Linked DNA regions of Homo sapiens: region 2 is linked to region 1. Evidence: promoter capture Hi-C in human tissues and cell types (Jung and others, 2019). All regions are on one chromosome and are shown on one strand. The core of a region is centred on a gene start or on the middle of the fragment in contact, and the rest is flanking DNA. Distances in the headings are between cores, read along the strand shown. Region 1 holds the start of GALR1 (galanin receptor 1). Region 2 overlaps MBP (myelin basic protein).

The links. Contacts are between HindIII fragments. The study calls those that stand out against the background at their distance.
Region 2: a fragment that was not itself captured here is called in contact with the fragment with the promoter of GALR1 in region 1 in 2 of the 25 tissues and cell types used here (H1 embryonic stem cells and mesendoderm cells).

Annotation. Positions count from the first base shown.
Region 1 is chr18:77,246,596-77,254,025 of GRCh38, reverse strand. GALR1 (galanin receptor 1) reads right to left here and starts at 4,178. Exons shown (of 3, transcript NM_001480.4): 1 at 2,812-4,178. The coding sequence starts at 3,477. It overlaps LOC124904329 (a long non-coding RNA gene), which reads left to right and starts at 2,575. Exons shown (of 2, transcript XR_007066422.1): 1 at 2,575-3,178; 2 at 4,469-6,317. RefSeq lists enhancers at 2,528-3,199, 3,871-4,542. The HindIII fragment of the contact is 7,211 bases long and covers 1-6,884 here.
Region 2 is chr18:77,058,896-77,066,325 of GRCh38, reverse strand. It overlaps MBP (myelin basic protein), which reads left to right. Exons shown (of 9, transcript NM_001025101.2): 3 at 1-28. Among named protein-coding and RNA genes, the nearest start is that of MBP, 70 kb to the left of the region's middle. RefSeq lists enhancers at 408-1,607, 3,023-3,112, 7,103-7,430. The HindIII fragment of the contact is 5,976 bases long and covers 1-4,238 here.

The sequences.
Region 1 (7,430 bases), core at 2,929-5,428:
ACTCTAAGGGAAGTGAGCGAGGGGCACAGACCTGGTGAAGAACAGCTCCATAGCAGCAGAGGGGAGGGCTCTTCAGGGGGCACTGGGCAGACCACTTCGACTCATCCTCCCACCCATGTATTCGATGAGTTTCCCAGAAACTGTCTGGTGCAAAAGACTGCTCCCTTACAAACTTGTGAGAATTTGGAGGCAAAAGGCAACTCTGGAATGCAATTGTCTTAAGTTTTTTTGTTTATTTAAAGCATCATAACCTCAGGTTCCCTTTTAGCCATCTGTGTTTTTTCAGGCTATCCAAAAGGCCTGGGGTTTGGAGGAACAGCTAATCCTGAAACTAATACTCAAGTAGCAAAATCCTTAACTGGATGGTGCACACCTAATGCCTGAGCCAAAGAAAATCAACTTGAAATAACTGAAATCTCCACCTATCCATGACAGCCCTGAAATTAACTTGCAAATATTATGAATATTATGCTGAATTCAATTTACTCCTAAAATCTTACTTTGTCATTTCCAGTAAGAAGATTTTAGCTCTTCTCCCTGAAGGCTTTGGGGAAATAAGGAAGCGTGTGCTTCAGTTCTCCACAGTAATTAGGAACTTAACAGCCATATATGTTAAGAATCTCAATCTCAGACTTCAATGTCCTCAAGGCCTCACCAACTGTCCCGTCCTCAGAAGACTGGGAATCCCTGTGTTAAAATCCTTCCAGAATCATTCACCAGCTTCATAATCTGGGTCAGGTGTTCCTTTCCAAAGCTCTTTTTCCTTAAATAATAAAATACGGGTAAATAATAAAATAGCTCCAAGCCACAGAGTTGTGCAAATTAAATGAGATGGTGCACATATCAGATAATTGTGCTATGTAAGATAGCCTTTGTTTAGCATCTGCGGAAGACCACGTTAATAAACCAGCCATTTTCCAAATAGCTAAGCTAGAGTTCTTTTCCAAATTCCCTTACTGCTACTATATTGGTGGTGGTGGTGGTGGTGGTGATGGTGGTGATGGTGGTGGTGGTGGTGGTGGTGGTGGTGGTGGTGATGGTGGTGATGGTGGTGATGGTGGTGGTGATGGTGGTGATGGTGGTGGTGGTGGTGGTGGTGGTGATGGTGGTGGTGGTGGTGGTGGTGGTGATGGTGGTGGTGGTGATGGTGGTGGTGGTGGTGGTGGTGGTGTTTTGAGACAGAGTCTCGCTCCGTTGTCAGCCAGGCTAGAGTTCAGTGGCACGATTTCGGCTCACTGCACCCTCCGTCACTTGGGTTCAAACAATTCTTCTGTCTCAGCCTCCGGAGTAGCTGGGACTACAGGGGCCCGCCACCACACCCAGCTAATATTTGTATTTTTAGTAGAGACGGGGTTTCACCCTGTTGGTCAGGCTGGTCTCGAATTCCCGACCTCAGGTGATCCACCCACCTCGGCCTCCCAAAGTGGTACTGTATTTCTTCATATTTAACCTTTTGGTGCAGGCCGTTCAGATAATATCCAGCAATATTATTATTCAAAATAGACACAATCTACCTAGATGAAATAGGTGGGGGGAAACAGGTGGCTTATAGTAAACACTTTTGTTGATAAAAATACCTTGTGACTTGAGTATTAAAAGTGATAGTTGTTCTACCTAGTCAGGTTATTTGTGGTCGTATAGTCACAGCCTTATTGAAACAGAATGAGAGACAGCGGTGAAGTCGGGTGGAACTGGTAACAGCTGTATTTCAAATGGCGATGCTCTGGAGCGAGGAGGTTGCGCACATTAGGGTTTACCCGGTGAATCGCCATCACCTGATTATTAAAATAAGCTCCCGTTTACGCAAATAAAAACACGTATGTCAAAGGCTGAAGACGTTTTGATCAGTATAAAGTCTTCAAACCCTTGTGGACTTAATGAGAAAAAGAATGTGAGTGCTGAGCTCTGCCCGGCTGTACAAAGGGAAAAACTATCTCCCACACGCGTGGACGGTGCCTCTGCTACAGTTAGGGTGAAGACCCGCCGCCTCAACCACTTCACCCTGTTCAGGAGACCTTTCTAAAAAGGATTGAAATGGGGAAGCCGAAAGCTCGAGTCCATTCCATTCCAAGTTCCTGGAGCCTGCGGTCAAGACTCTGTAAAGAAACACCCTTTTGCACTTGGGTTTACAAAGCTAAGCTTCAGAATAAAATAAAATTCGAGGCTCTGTCCCCGGGAGCAGCGGCTTCACAGAGCCCGGTGTGCGCAAAGCCTTCGGAGCGAGGGCAAACTGCGCACCCCGGGGGAGAGGGGCCGCCCCGCGAGTCCCCCCCGCCACGGCCAGCTGAGAGCCCGGGAGGGAGCTGTGGGGACCCGTCACCCTCGCAAAAGGTCCGCGCTCTGGTGACCACCAGAGCTCTCCTCAGGTCCCACAGCGCCGCGGCGGTAACCTCCCCGCGCAGCTGATCTGGTTGAAGAGTTGCTGGAACCGAGCGGGGTTTGCTGTACCGGGAAGGATGCGGCAGCGCCCGCCTACCTACCGCCCAGGCAACCTGGGGGCGTTGAAGGGCCGCAGGGCCGAGGAAGGGGAGGGGAGGAGAAACTGGTTCTACTGGACCATGCGAAGTGAACTGCAAACTTTCCCCAGCATCTCTCAGACTCCAAGTAACTTTCTTGCGCAAGCCAATGGCACGCTCCAGCAGCGGCCAGGAAGCCTCTCTGCACAGATCCGTACCAGCGCCGCCAGAGTGGGGACCACCGGGGCCAGGCTGCCGCCAAGGCTCCGGCAGGGCCGCGGGACACTGAGACCCCAGGGCCCCCACCGGCCCTCCGCCCTCCCTCGCGCGTCTCGGCCCCGCGACCGGCGTGCACCTTGGCATAGCAGAAGCAGATGAGCAGGAGCGGCAGCAGGTAGCCGAAGACGAAGGTGCACACCACGTAGGCCTTCTTGTGGCGAGGGTCGGGCCACTGCTCCCAGCAGAAGGTCTGGTTGCTGGCGCGCGGGTGGAAGAGGCCCTGGTGGTAGGCCACGGGCGAGGCCATGGCAATGGACAGCGCCCAGATGCAGCCCACGCCCAGCAGCGCGTTGCGGGACACCCTGAGGGAGGAGGAGCGCCGCGAGTGCACGATGGCCACGTAGCGGTCCACGGACATCGCGGCCAGGGTGAAGATGCTCACCAGCATGGACACGGTGAAGAAGTAGTGGATGAACTTGCAGATGAAGGCGCCCAGCACCCAGGTGGGCAGCGCGTACACGGTGGCCTGGAAGGGGATGCAGAAGAGCAGGTAGGCCAGGTCGGCGATGCTCAGGTTGAGGATGAACAGGTTGGTGGTGCTCCGCGGCTTGCCCGGCTTGCTGCGCGCCAGCACGGTGATCACTAGGCTGTTGCCCAGCACACCCAGCGCGAAGATCAGGCCGAACACCACCAGCGTGACGAAGTTCTCCACGCCGATGCCGAACAGCGGCCCGGGCTCCGGGGCGGGGGGCTCCGGCCAGCTCGCGTTGCCCTCGCTGAGGTTCCCGACCGCCAGCTCCATGGCCCGCGGGGCTGTCCCGGCGAGCGGCGGGGCGCGCGGGGAGGGAGGGCGGGATAGTAGGCGCCGGGGGTGGCCAGGGGTCCCGGCGCAAAGCACGGAGAGTGCGAGTTTAGGAGTCTGAGCTTCCCCCGAGGCGCGAGCCAGCGGGAGCGGGGATCCGGTGGCCGTGCCTGGTGGCACCGTCTTTGCGCCGGGACCTTCTGAGAGAGGGTGGGTTCGGGAGCCCGGAGCTGGACCTTCTCGGGAAGGGACGGTGATCTCGAGAGCACTGGGGTCCCCTTCCCGGGCGCCTCCGCCCGCTGCGCGACCACGGAGCCTGGGAAGAGGGATCCGCCGGCTGCAGCCGCGCAGGTGGAAAGACCCTTCTCTCCGCCTTACCGCTCCAGATCTTCGCCGGCGGTTTTCCCTGGCTCCCGGAGGGGCTGCGTGCTGCACCTGTTGCTCGGAGCCGCTCCTTCCCGCGGCGCTTCCCCGCACTGCCCAGCGCGCAGCAGTGCACTGTGCGGCTCCTGCAGAGAAGGCTCCCCGCGCATCCCGCGCGCCCAGCGCCACCTCCCCAGTGGGCTGGCGCCTCCGACTCCCTCCCGGCTTTTCCAGGGATTCCGAGTCGTCCACAGGGCGAGAGCTCTTTTGGGAGGCTTCCTGGTGGTGGATAGAGTCGGGTGCCAGGGGCTTCTCTGCTGCAACTGAGAGGCGAAAACAGCTCGGCTGAAATCCGCGCCCCTTAGAAGTCACGGTGCGCGAGCAGAGACTGGACGGATTCTAGCGGGATGGGTCGCCGCCCACCTCCCGGCTGGAACCGGAGCGCGCTCGCCTCTGCGGAGTGCGGACCTGCCCGGCGGGCTGAAGGCGGGGCTGCCGGATGCCGCGGGCCAGGCGGGCGAGGGAAGCCGGGCGCGCTCCAGGGCGTTCCAGGGCGCGCCGGGGTGGGAGGCGGAGGGGTGCGCGGGCCTCCTCATCCATTAGTGCCTTTCCTCCTCCTCCTCCCCAGGGTGGCTGTCCGTGAGAACGCCTCTCTCCCAGGAATAACCCCAGGAAATCGAGGCTGGCGACGCTCCCTGGAGTTTTGTAAAATTGGCCGCCTAATCCCACCCTCACCCCGCGGCCTGCTACAGAGGAGAGAAGTGCAAAGGGAAAGGGCCGCGTGAGCTTCTCTATAGACGTGGCTGACATGGAAGGGGAAGGCTGTTCACACCACCCAACCTCACTTCATTTTTGCCTTGTATTACTCATCTGAGGGACATAAACTGCAGCAGTGACAAACGAAATATTTTTAAAGTGAAAGAAAGTGTTTAGTATCTTACTGCCGTAAATGTGGATTTGCCAGAAAGAAATTAAGCCGTTTCGGTATAGCAGGGCCAGTCACGTTAGCTTTGTAACCTTGGTGGTTCCCAGCTAGAGAGCTGACACTGATTCCTTTATTTGCGGTGATTTGTCTGTTTTCACTTTCAAAAACACCGATGCGTTTCCAGCATTCACCATCTGGTGACTGTCCATTATGCGCGGACGCAGTGCCTGAGGGGATGGGTAATCCAAAGACCAAAGAGGGCAGGGGCTCTTTGCCTTGAGGAGTTAAGGAAGTAGGATCTTGTTTTTCTACCTTGCTAGCTCTGTTCTGCCTCATTTCCAGATAAATCTTGATGCAGTTCATTGAACATCTATGTATTTTATCTACATTCATTGCTAGGGAGTTCCTTGCAAGGGAATTGTTCTATTCACACACATTTTCTGGAAGACAAAATTGAGTGTAAGCAACTTGCCTATTTGGGTATCCTGCTAAAGCCAAGAATGCTCTTACCTGCCCCGACCTGAGAGAATGCCTTGAAACTTCCTCAGGTGATCTTGCCAATCCGTATTGCTTTTCTTCCCTGAGACGCTCTCCGACCCAGGCTTTCAAAGTATCATGTTGTATTTGACAGCTCTGTTGCATTGAAAGTTAGTAGTAATATGATTTGGGAGAGTTTTTAAATTATGAACTATTTTCACATGAAACAGATATGATAAAATTACATTGAATACCAATGCACCCACCATCTAGCTTAGAATAATTTTTAAATATTATCACTAGAGTTGAAGTCACTTTTATATATTTTCCAGTCACAACCTCCACCTCTCCCACTATCTCCAAGTAACCTAAATTTGTTGTCTATTAGTCATTTCTTTATACATTTTTGGCATACGCATATGATCTTAATATATTGTGGTGATTTTTTTTTTTTTTTTTTTTTTTTTTGCTTTAACATTATGTGGTTGGTATTATGGTACATGTTTTGTTTGTTTTTGCCTTAAAGTATAATTTGTCTGTTATTGCTATAAGTACAACAACATTCTTTGCTTTGTATTTGCCTGTTACATCTTTTACAGCCTTCCTATGTTATGTCCTGCAATTTAAAGGTATCTCTTTAATATAGCACATAACTGAATTATTTTAAAACACAATTTTAAAATCTCTAGTTTTTAACTGGTGAGTTTAGGTCATTTATATTTATTGTTATTACTAACCTATATGGATTTATTTTTAACATTTTATTTTGTACTTTTTATTTGTTTTCTATTTCTGTGCTTTTTCTCTCTCTCTCTCTCTCTCTTTTCATGACATCTTTTGAATTGCATTTTAAAGTGTTTTCTCCCTCCCTCCACATTCTTGGAAAAGGAAGAAATATAGTGTATATTTATTGTTTTACTGGTTACCCTTGAGTGCCTACTATGTGCCAGGAACTATTGTAGGTTCTGGAGATAGAGCAATTAACACAACAAAGTACTTTCTTTTATGGATTTTACATTTCATTATGGACACGACATTTAAAAATAAATAAAATGATAATGTCACATGTGGTAAACACTACTGATATACTTTAGATATCTGTCCTCGCCAAATCTCTTATTGAATTATAATCCCTAATGTTGGAGGTGGAGCCCAGTGGGAGGGTTTGGATCAATGGGGTGGATCCCTCATGGCTTGGTGCTGTCCTCGGGACAGTGAGTCTGAAGATCTGGTTGTTTGAAAGTGTGTGGCACCTCCTCCCTTCCCTCTCTTGCTTCCGCTCCTGCCATGTAAGATGTATCTGCTCCCCCTTCACCTTCTGCCATGATTAGAAGCTTCCTGAGACCTCCCCAGAAGCTGAGCAGATGCCAGCACCATGCTTCCTGTACAGCCTGCAGAACTGTGAGCCAATGAAACCTCTTTTCTTTATAAAGTACCCAGCCTCAGGTGTTTCTTTATAGCAATGCAAGAATGGCCTAATACAACCCTAAAAGAGAAGAATGCAGGATAAGGGATAGAGAGCAGTTAGAGAGTATAACTATATACAGGGCAATAGGGAGAAACATCTGAAAAACTGACATTTGAGTAGGAACCTGAAGGAAGTACAGAAGGAAACCTTTTAAACACGTGGCATGACACATTCCCGGGAAACAGTGCAGCAGAGGAAGCTGTGTGAAGAACGAGGAGTACAGTTTTGCTGTCATGGAAACAGCTGGGAAGAAGATTTGTCAGCCACGAGGTCAGAAAACATTGGTTCAGGAAAATGGGGATGGATGACCTCAGACCTTGGAGAGCAAGGAAGGGGCCTGGGACTTCATTCTGGACTTCGGAGGAAGTCCTATAGGGAGTTTCAAGCAGAGAGATGTTATGCTCTGACCTGCGATTCAGAATGATGATTCTGGAGTACAGATTAGAAGAGCAAAGAAAAGAGCAGAAGACCAACCAGTAAGCTTGCAGGAACCCAGACAACAGATCGTTCTAGGTGTGGTGGGAAGGACCTGGATTCTGGATATCTCAATGTTGTAGCAAATGAGATTCGTTGGTGGATGGATTTAAGGTGGGAGAAAAGGGAGAGCAAGGTTGACTACCACGGTTTTAGTCTGACAGCCTGGATGGGAAATCACCATTTACTGAGTTGACACAAAGAGTGGAAGGAACAGGTTTGGAGGTGTGGAGCATCAAGTTAAAT
Region 2 (7,430 bases), core at 1-2,500, 180 kb after region 1:
ACAACCTCAGAGGACAACGAAGTGTTCGGTAGGTGACGCAGATATCGGCAACATGGCGCCACATGGTGACAGCGTGCACCTGCACTCTCACTCGGGGAAGCCTTTGATTTTTTTATTGCATGGGTGATCCATGGATCTGTCTGTACTCATTACTAAAACATAGAGGCTGGGATCATTGCTTCATGTCTGTAATCGCACACTTCATGGGGTCTATGCAAGAGGATCGCTTGAGCCCAGGAGCTCAAGACCAGCCCGGGCAACACAATGAGACCTCGTCTCTACAAAAAATAAAATAAATAAATTAGCCAGGTGTGGTGGCATGCACCCGTGGCCCCAGATACTTGGGAGGCTGAAGTGAGAGGATCACTTGGGCCCAGGAGGTCGAGGCTGCAGTGAGCTATGATTGCTCCACTGCACTCCAGGCTGGGCAACAGAGCAAGACGCTGTCTAAAAAAAATTAAAATGTCGGCTGTGTAGATACGTGGCAGATACAGCCCCTTCCTCCCCTCCTGCAATCCCTTCCCATCTCGGTTTTGTTTTTGCTCGCATGCCTTGTTGCACACATAGACATTCAGCATTTCCCAGGCTCACTGTATGGTGTTTCTCTGATCGTCTGTTTGTCCAGCCCTGTGTGAGCATCGGGAAGCCTAGCAGTGTTTGTAAAAAATAGCTAATGAGGAAATGAAATTGCACCAAAGCCTGGATACCACGGTGTTTATCTTAACCACAAAGAGTGACTCAGAAGGCATTGGGAAATAACTGTTGTCTTCAGAATTTTACTTTTTTGTATTGCCTTATTGAATATAAATTGCCTTTACATATTTTTGTGGATTGAATGTGTCCCCTACATTTCGTGTGTTGGAAGCTTAACCCCCTAAATTTCTATGTTAATTGGACGTGGGGCCTTTGGGATGTAACTAGGAGCAGAGACCTAGTCATCAGGTCATTGGGGTGGGGCCCCTGATGAGACCAGTGGCTTTGTAAGGAGAGGAAGAGAGGCCTGAGCCAACTCTTAATCTGTGTCACCATGCGATGCCACCCACCACGTCATGGCACACTCACCAGAAGCTGAGCAGATGCCAGTGCCATGCCCTGGGACTTTCCAGCCTCAAGAACTGTAAGGAATAAATTTATTTTCTTTATAAATTATCCAGTCTCAGGTATTCAGTTATAGCAATAGAAAATGAACCAAGATATAATCTTAGCATTCATCTTTGTTTCTGCTTCCCCTATGAGTGACTGACCATGTTCTCATTTGAGGTTTACATTAATGAGGTTGGATCCACTCGTCCCATCATGACACTGAGGCTCAGTGACTTGCCCAAGACCACAGGGCTATGCAGGTCCTCAAAGCAGTTCTATTCTGCTGTGCACAGCTCTTTGATTTTCTTCATCTATTCCTAAAGCAAAGAGGAAAAGGGGTGGAATGAAATGTGCTCAGATCCTGAGAACTCACTATAGGTCGAAGGAAAAAGGAGTGATTTTGTGGCTACTAAAATACGCATCCCTTTCCCCAAGATCAGGCCACCCTGTAGGTTACAGACAACATTCAAGGCAAACAGGCTTCCTGGCCACATTCCCTAGCATGATCTTTGCTTATTTATGGAAAGGCCTTTCTTTATATTTCAGCTGTTAGACAAGATAATTTATGCCGATTTTTTTTGTTCGTGATTAACTTGCTCTTTTTCAAAAGTCCTTTCTTTTCTACAATTCCATCCTTCTTGAGCAAACACACATAAAACAGATTTAGTGCTACCGACTGTTTCAATATCTTAAGCGTCCATGAAAATCAACATAACTCAAAGGCCCAGAGACTGAAAGCAATGAGGACTCCTTTACTAGAAAGGAGATAGGCAAGTGCAAAAGGGACTCAGTGCTCTGCTGATTTCTGCATACTTTATTATGCTCTTTATAGGAATTTTCTTGGAGGCATGTCTGAGCATAACTCACCGCCTTCAGGTACTGGGGTTTCCATCCTCAGTGGCAGAGGAAGAAGAGGAAGGAGTTGAAGGCAGCCGCGTCCATGACTAGGAGCAGCAGCGTGCACTCTGGAGAACACTTAGGGTTTCGTAGAATAGACAATCTATGAGTTTGAATGGGATGTCCCAGCCTTGATGGTTTTAAGAATAAATCTGCCTATAAAACTCTAGAATAAAAATTCATTTAGATGATCTCTTTACTCATACATTTCAGCTACATATATAAAGACGTAATAGAAAAGCACGAAGACAAATGTCCAAATTTAGGTTTTACACATAAATAAAAGTGAGTTCTAGAATGATTTTGGCTAAGCCTACTGTTTTTTTAAGCAAACATCATCTTTATCATTATTCCCCTAGCTAATTGCTTTTGAGATTATTCGTAACGATGGCAGCGGTTCTGTTACCATCAAATACACACATACACACACACACACACACACACACACATATGTATAGGTATATATACAGCATGGATACAATATAACATAAAAAGGTCTTCTATACTTAGCCCTTTCCTTACGCTATCAAGATGATATCATTCCTGAAGCCCTTCCAAACGCAGCCCTCCTTAATCTTTTCCAAGAGATACTGAGTTTAGAGAGTTATTACCTAGGATTGAATGTGAAAACTACTGGAAATGATGGAAATGCAGAATATTTCCATCATTTCACAAACGTGGGTTGTGTTTTGATAGGAAGAGCAATACTTCTGCCTGTTGTGTTTACTGAGGTGTTCCCAGGTCCTTGGACACCGGAGCAAGGCTCGCATATCTGCCGAATGAACTTAGCTCCCACATTCCAAGCCTTTCTGCCCGTGAGTGTGCCGAGGAAGCAGTTCTCAAGAGTCACCTTCAGGCCTTTGCAGCTGATGCCTGATTCAGGTTGAGTCAAAACCAAGGGGGAAGTGGGAGGAGCTTGTGGTCCAGGCATCCTCATTTCATCCACCCTAGGGGAGGCTGGCCCAGGAGGCCTCTGCACGCATTATTTAGCAGCAACAATCCCAAGTGATGCCGACCTGGAAGGGCCTGTTGAACTGTGGGGCTTTTGCTATTGACCTTAATAATTTCCCATGCCTGACCCTTTCCTGGGGCACACAGAACTCTACTCTAAAGGCGCAGAGTGCTGAAGGAAAAGAAACTAAAATAATCTTGGCTATTAGTCTTGGCTGTATAACCTTGGAGGCATATATGCAATTTCTTTTAAAATTGTAATGTATAAAGTGACTCTAAATGAGAGCAGCAGCTCCCACCTACTTTAGGAAAAGGTCTTTCCTTGACATGATAGTAAATCCCATCAGTACGTTGGGAAACCATTCCTGATGTCCCGTGAGCACAAGTCACCGTGATCGTGTGATGGTCATCTCTAGGTTCTTGGCAGCCGTTTCATCCACGCATCAGAAGAATGAGCGAGGAATGTGAGAAATGGGCAGAAAGCCATCATCCTTAGCTAACCACTCTGCAGGACACGCATACCTAAGATCTCTGTGAACGTCGAAAGGCAATAGTGTTGTATTTCAGCTGATAAGAGAGTCCCCGAGTTAAGACTGATTGGCGCATTGAGAAGTTTGTGCCAGGTGCTGACTCTGGCACAGGTGCTATTGCTATGGTTCACACATTGAGTGCTCAAAACCACAAACAGACAACTAAAACCACGCAGCCTTCCTCCTCGTCTCTGTGAAGGCCAAAGCCAGTCATTCTCTTAGCAATCCACTTTGAAGTTTTATTTGCCCTTCATGTTCTGGTAAAAATCTCACCAAAGGATTGTTTTCAATCTAAGTAAATAACTCGTTAGAGCACACTTTCAAATATCTTCTGTGATTTGTTTTTTTTTTTTCGACAGCTTTCTGGTTATGCTTAAGACTGTTTTGCCTAGTTACAAAAGGAGGAAGAAAACACTCTAAGGCACGACAACCTAGAGAACTGGGCGTTGTCCAAGCTTTGGGGAAGCAGGCCATTTTTCAGTAGACCAGTTGCTGCTAAGCGTTTTCTGACCCACACACCCACAGGTAGTGCACACACTGTCCTCCTCCTTAGAAACCAGGCGGGAAGGAAGGCAGGAGTCAGTCTCCACCTCTTCTCCCGCCAGAGTTGACTAATCGTGGGGCTAAACTAAAGGCAGGCAATTCAGTTGAGGTGAGCGAAGTCTTAGGTCTCCCTAAATTATACTAAGGGAGGAGAGGAGTGGCCAAAAGAGGGCACTACTGCCCCGGTGACTGACTGTGGTTCCTCTCAGCCAGGACAGGCATCTCAAAGACAGGGCTGGAGGGATGTGGACTCCGTGTCATGTGTAAGCTAGTTCACTCCACATGTGCCACAGAGGATGGATGTCCTACCGTGAAAACGTCACCAGCCCGCGTCTGTGTTCACTGCGTCCACTTCACAGGGCCAAGTCCTGTGTGCACAGCATGTAAGGGCAAACCCCCATGAAGAGTCATGAGGAAAACATTCACAACTTCATTGCTCAGACAATGGAGATAGAAATATCTGTGTTTAATGTTTATTTAAAAAGTATTCATCCCAGAAACATTTAAGTACATATATTGGTGTGTGCGTGTTTTCACTCTTCTTTATTTTATAAAGCTTGAGTTAGCTGACAGTAGGAAAAAACACCAGGAAACAGTAAAATGTAAATAAAATTGAGAAGTCTAGATGAAGTGAAGGAAGACCACAAACACATCAACCATGTGACAATGGCTGCAGGGAGCCGCCCGTTTCACTCTGAGCTGCCCAGCTGCCCAAGTGGAAGGGGACCCCGGCCAGCCTGAAGTCTCTCATTTTACACAGCAGGTGGTAGAGCCCTACCACCTTTTAGCTGTGTGCTTTTAGCAATGAACTCCTCTGTTTGTGTCTTGGTTTCCCCATACGTAAGTAGGGGTAATCATAAAATGACCTGTGAGTAAGAAACAACACATGTGCACGTGTGGGACTCTCCCATCTCCTCACAGTACTCAGTAAACATTGGCTAGTATTTTCAGAGAGAAGACTGCAGACATTTTTTGAAGCATACAGAGCTTTGTTTAACAAATACTAAGAATTTTTCCTGCTTAAATTTTTATCACAGACAAAGAGTCACATGGTAGTCAACGACCTCAAGGTATTTTTATAGCACATGTGGAGATTAGTTTTGTATAGTTATTTATTGTAATAGAATTCAGTAAGGGCCAGTGGTGCAACATGAATCTTCCGCATTGCAAGCCAAGAGCCTATGATCCCTGTGTCTAGCCATCAGAGGACCTGCTATGATCCACAGACAGAATTACAAGAACTTGGGGTCCCTTCCCAGAGCCAGGACTTTGATAGGCATTTCATAGCACAAAGTTCCAGGTCCCAGGCTCTGAGAAAGGCCCAGGAGGAGTTCTGAGCGGCTGGTTGCTGAGGCACTGCGTGCCTGTGTTCCATTGAGGGTCAGCGGCAGCCTCAAGAGAAGACAGACTCCACCTGGGAAACAGGCAGGTGTGACCATTGGCTCTGCCATCAACTCTCAATGCAACTGGGGGTGCGACTTCATCTCTCTGTGCCTGTTTCCTCCTCCAGAAAACAGGGTTTCCTATTGACCCTCAAGAATTGTTGCAAGGGCCCATTGAGAGAACAATTTGGCCGGGTATGATGGCTCATGCCTATAATCCCAGCACTTTGGGAGGCTGAGGCAGGTGGATCACCTGAGGCCAGGAGTTCGAGACCAGCCTGACCAACACGGGGAAACCACATCTCTACCAAAAAATACAAAATTAGCTGGATGTAGTAGTGCACACCTGTAATCCTGGCTACTTGGAAGGCTGAGGCAGAATTCCTTGAACCCAGGAGGCAGAGGTTGCAGTGAGCTGAGATCACACCACTGCACTCCAGCCTGGGCAACAAGAGCAAAACTCCGCCTCATAAAAAAAAAAAAAAAAAAAAGGAGAGAGAGAGAAAACAGTTATACTCCATTACAGGATGCTTTAACATCTCTACTGCTTGAAGCCACGTTCATACAGTGAATAATGAGTGCTGCCGTTCATTAGCATTTTTCATGTGCCTCTGAGGACCTGGGTCACATCTGCCATAAACACTCATTCATCATTGGTACTAGGATGTCCTGCCTATGTGCTTTCTCCATTCATTTATTAAATCATTTTTGAGCACCTCCAATGTGCCGTGCCATATACTGGAGGTGGAAGAGAGAGGGCAGGAGGTTAGAGAAAACAAAATAGAGAAATGGCGGGGCCAGCCATTCTGGGGACTTCACACCATTTGGGGGATGGTTTAACATAGAAGGACATGGAACGAGGGCCTCAGCCTCCCAAAGTGCTGGATTACAGGCATGAGCCACCACGCCCAGCCCATAATTTGCTATCTTATTGCCACAAAGAGTCTATTCCGTCTTGCCTGGAGGGCTAGGGCCTTTATTTTTACTTTACATCACTTTTCTAAGAGGCTGTTCCTGTCATATCTAACCAAGAAGCCCGCCTGTCTCCCATGCCACACTTCTTTATCCCACTGCCTTATTTCATGTCCTTCACATTGGCCTTTTGGTTATTGCATTTGCATACTTGGTGTGTTTTTTCTTCCACAAATGCAAGCCTCTTGAAGGCGGTGCATCTCTTATCTGTGCTGGCCCCTATTTTTATTTGAATTGGCCACCAGGTGGAAGCACTTAGCACTGAAGTGGACATACCAAATGGCTTCTCAAGATCCATGTCTGCTTTTGCATCTTGGTGTATTTTTACTTGTAATAATATTCCCCTGATTTTTTAAGCAAAAATATATTTATTTATAGTGTTACACATATGTCAAATTTGATTAATTAGATAAAAATTAATTAATTTTAATTTTAATAATGTAATTAAGGTTAAATTATTATCATTAGAATTAAATTAATTATAAATAATTAGTGACTACTTTATAAAATTAAATTATTATAATTTAAATTCATTATAATTAATAAAGCAGCAAATTGAATTAATAATTAAAATTAATTAATGGGATTAATTGATGAACTAAAAAATAATTCAACTACCTGACATAACTGTCCCATTTTCCATTTTGAATTCTGATCTTTCAACCAACAACATTTTTCTAGGCTGTTTAGCGATCCTGTATTATCCTTTTAAAATAGCTCCTTAATATTCCATATGATTGAACAGTAATATCATTCCTCTATTGCTTTTCATTTTGGTTGTCTCAAGTTTGCTACTAGAAACCATGCTACAGTTGGCACTTTGATTTCAGTAGGGTTTTTTCTTTCTTTTAATTGTTTTAATAGGCTTCAGTCAAAGTAAGTGAGACGGCTAAATTATTTTCCCCGAACTCGTGCTGGCGAACTGCCCTTCCCGTGGCTGAATATGCCTATTTCCCCAGCACGCTTCCATCTTGGGGCAGCCTCAGGGGGTTGTAAGTTGGTGGGCTAGGGCTGGATGTGGTGGCCCTCAGGCAGGTCTCGTTATGTCCATATGGTGGAGGTGTTTTCTTTT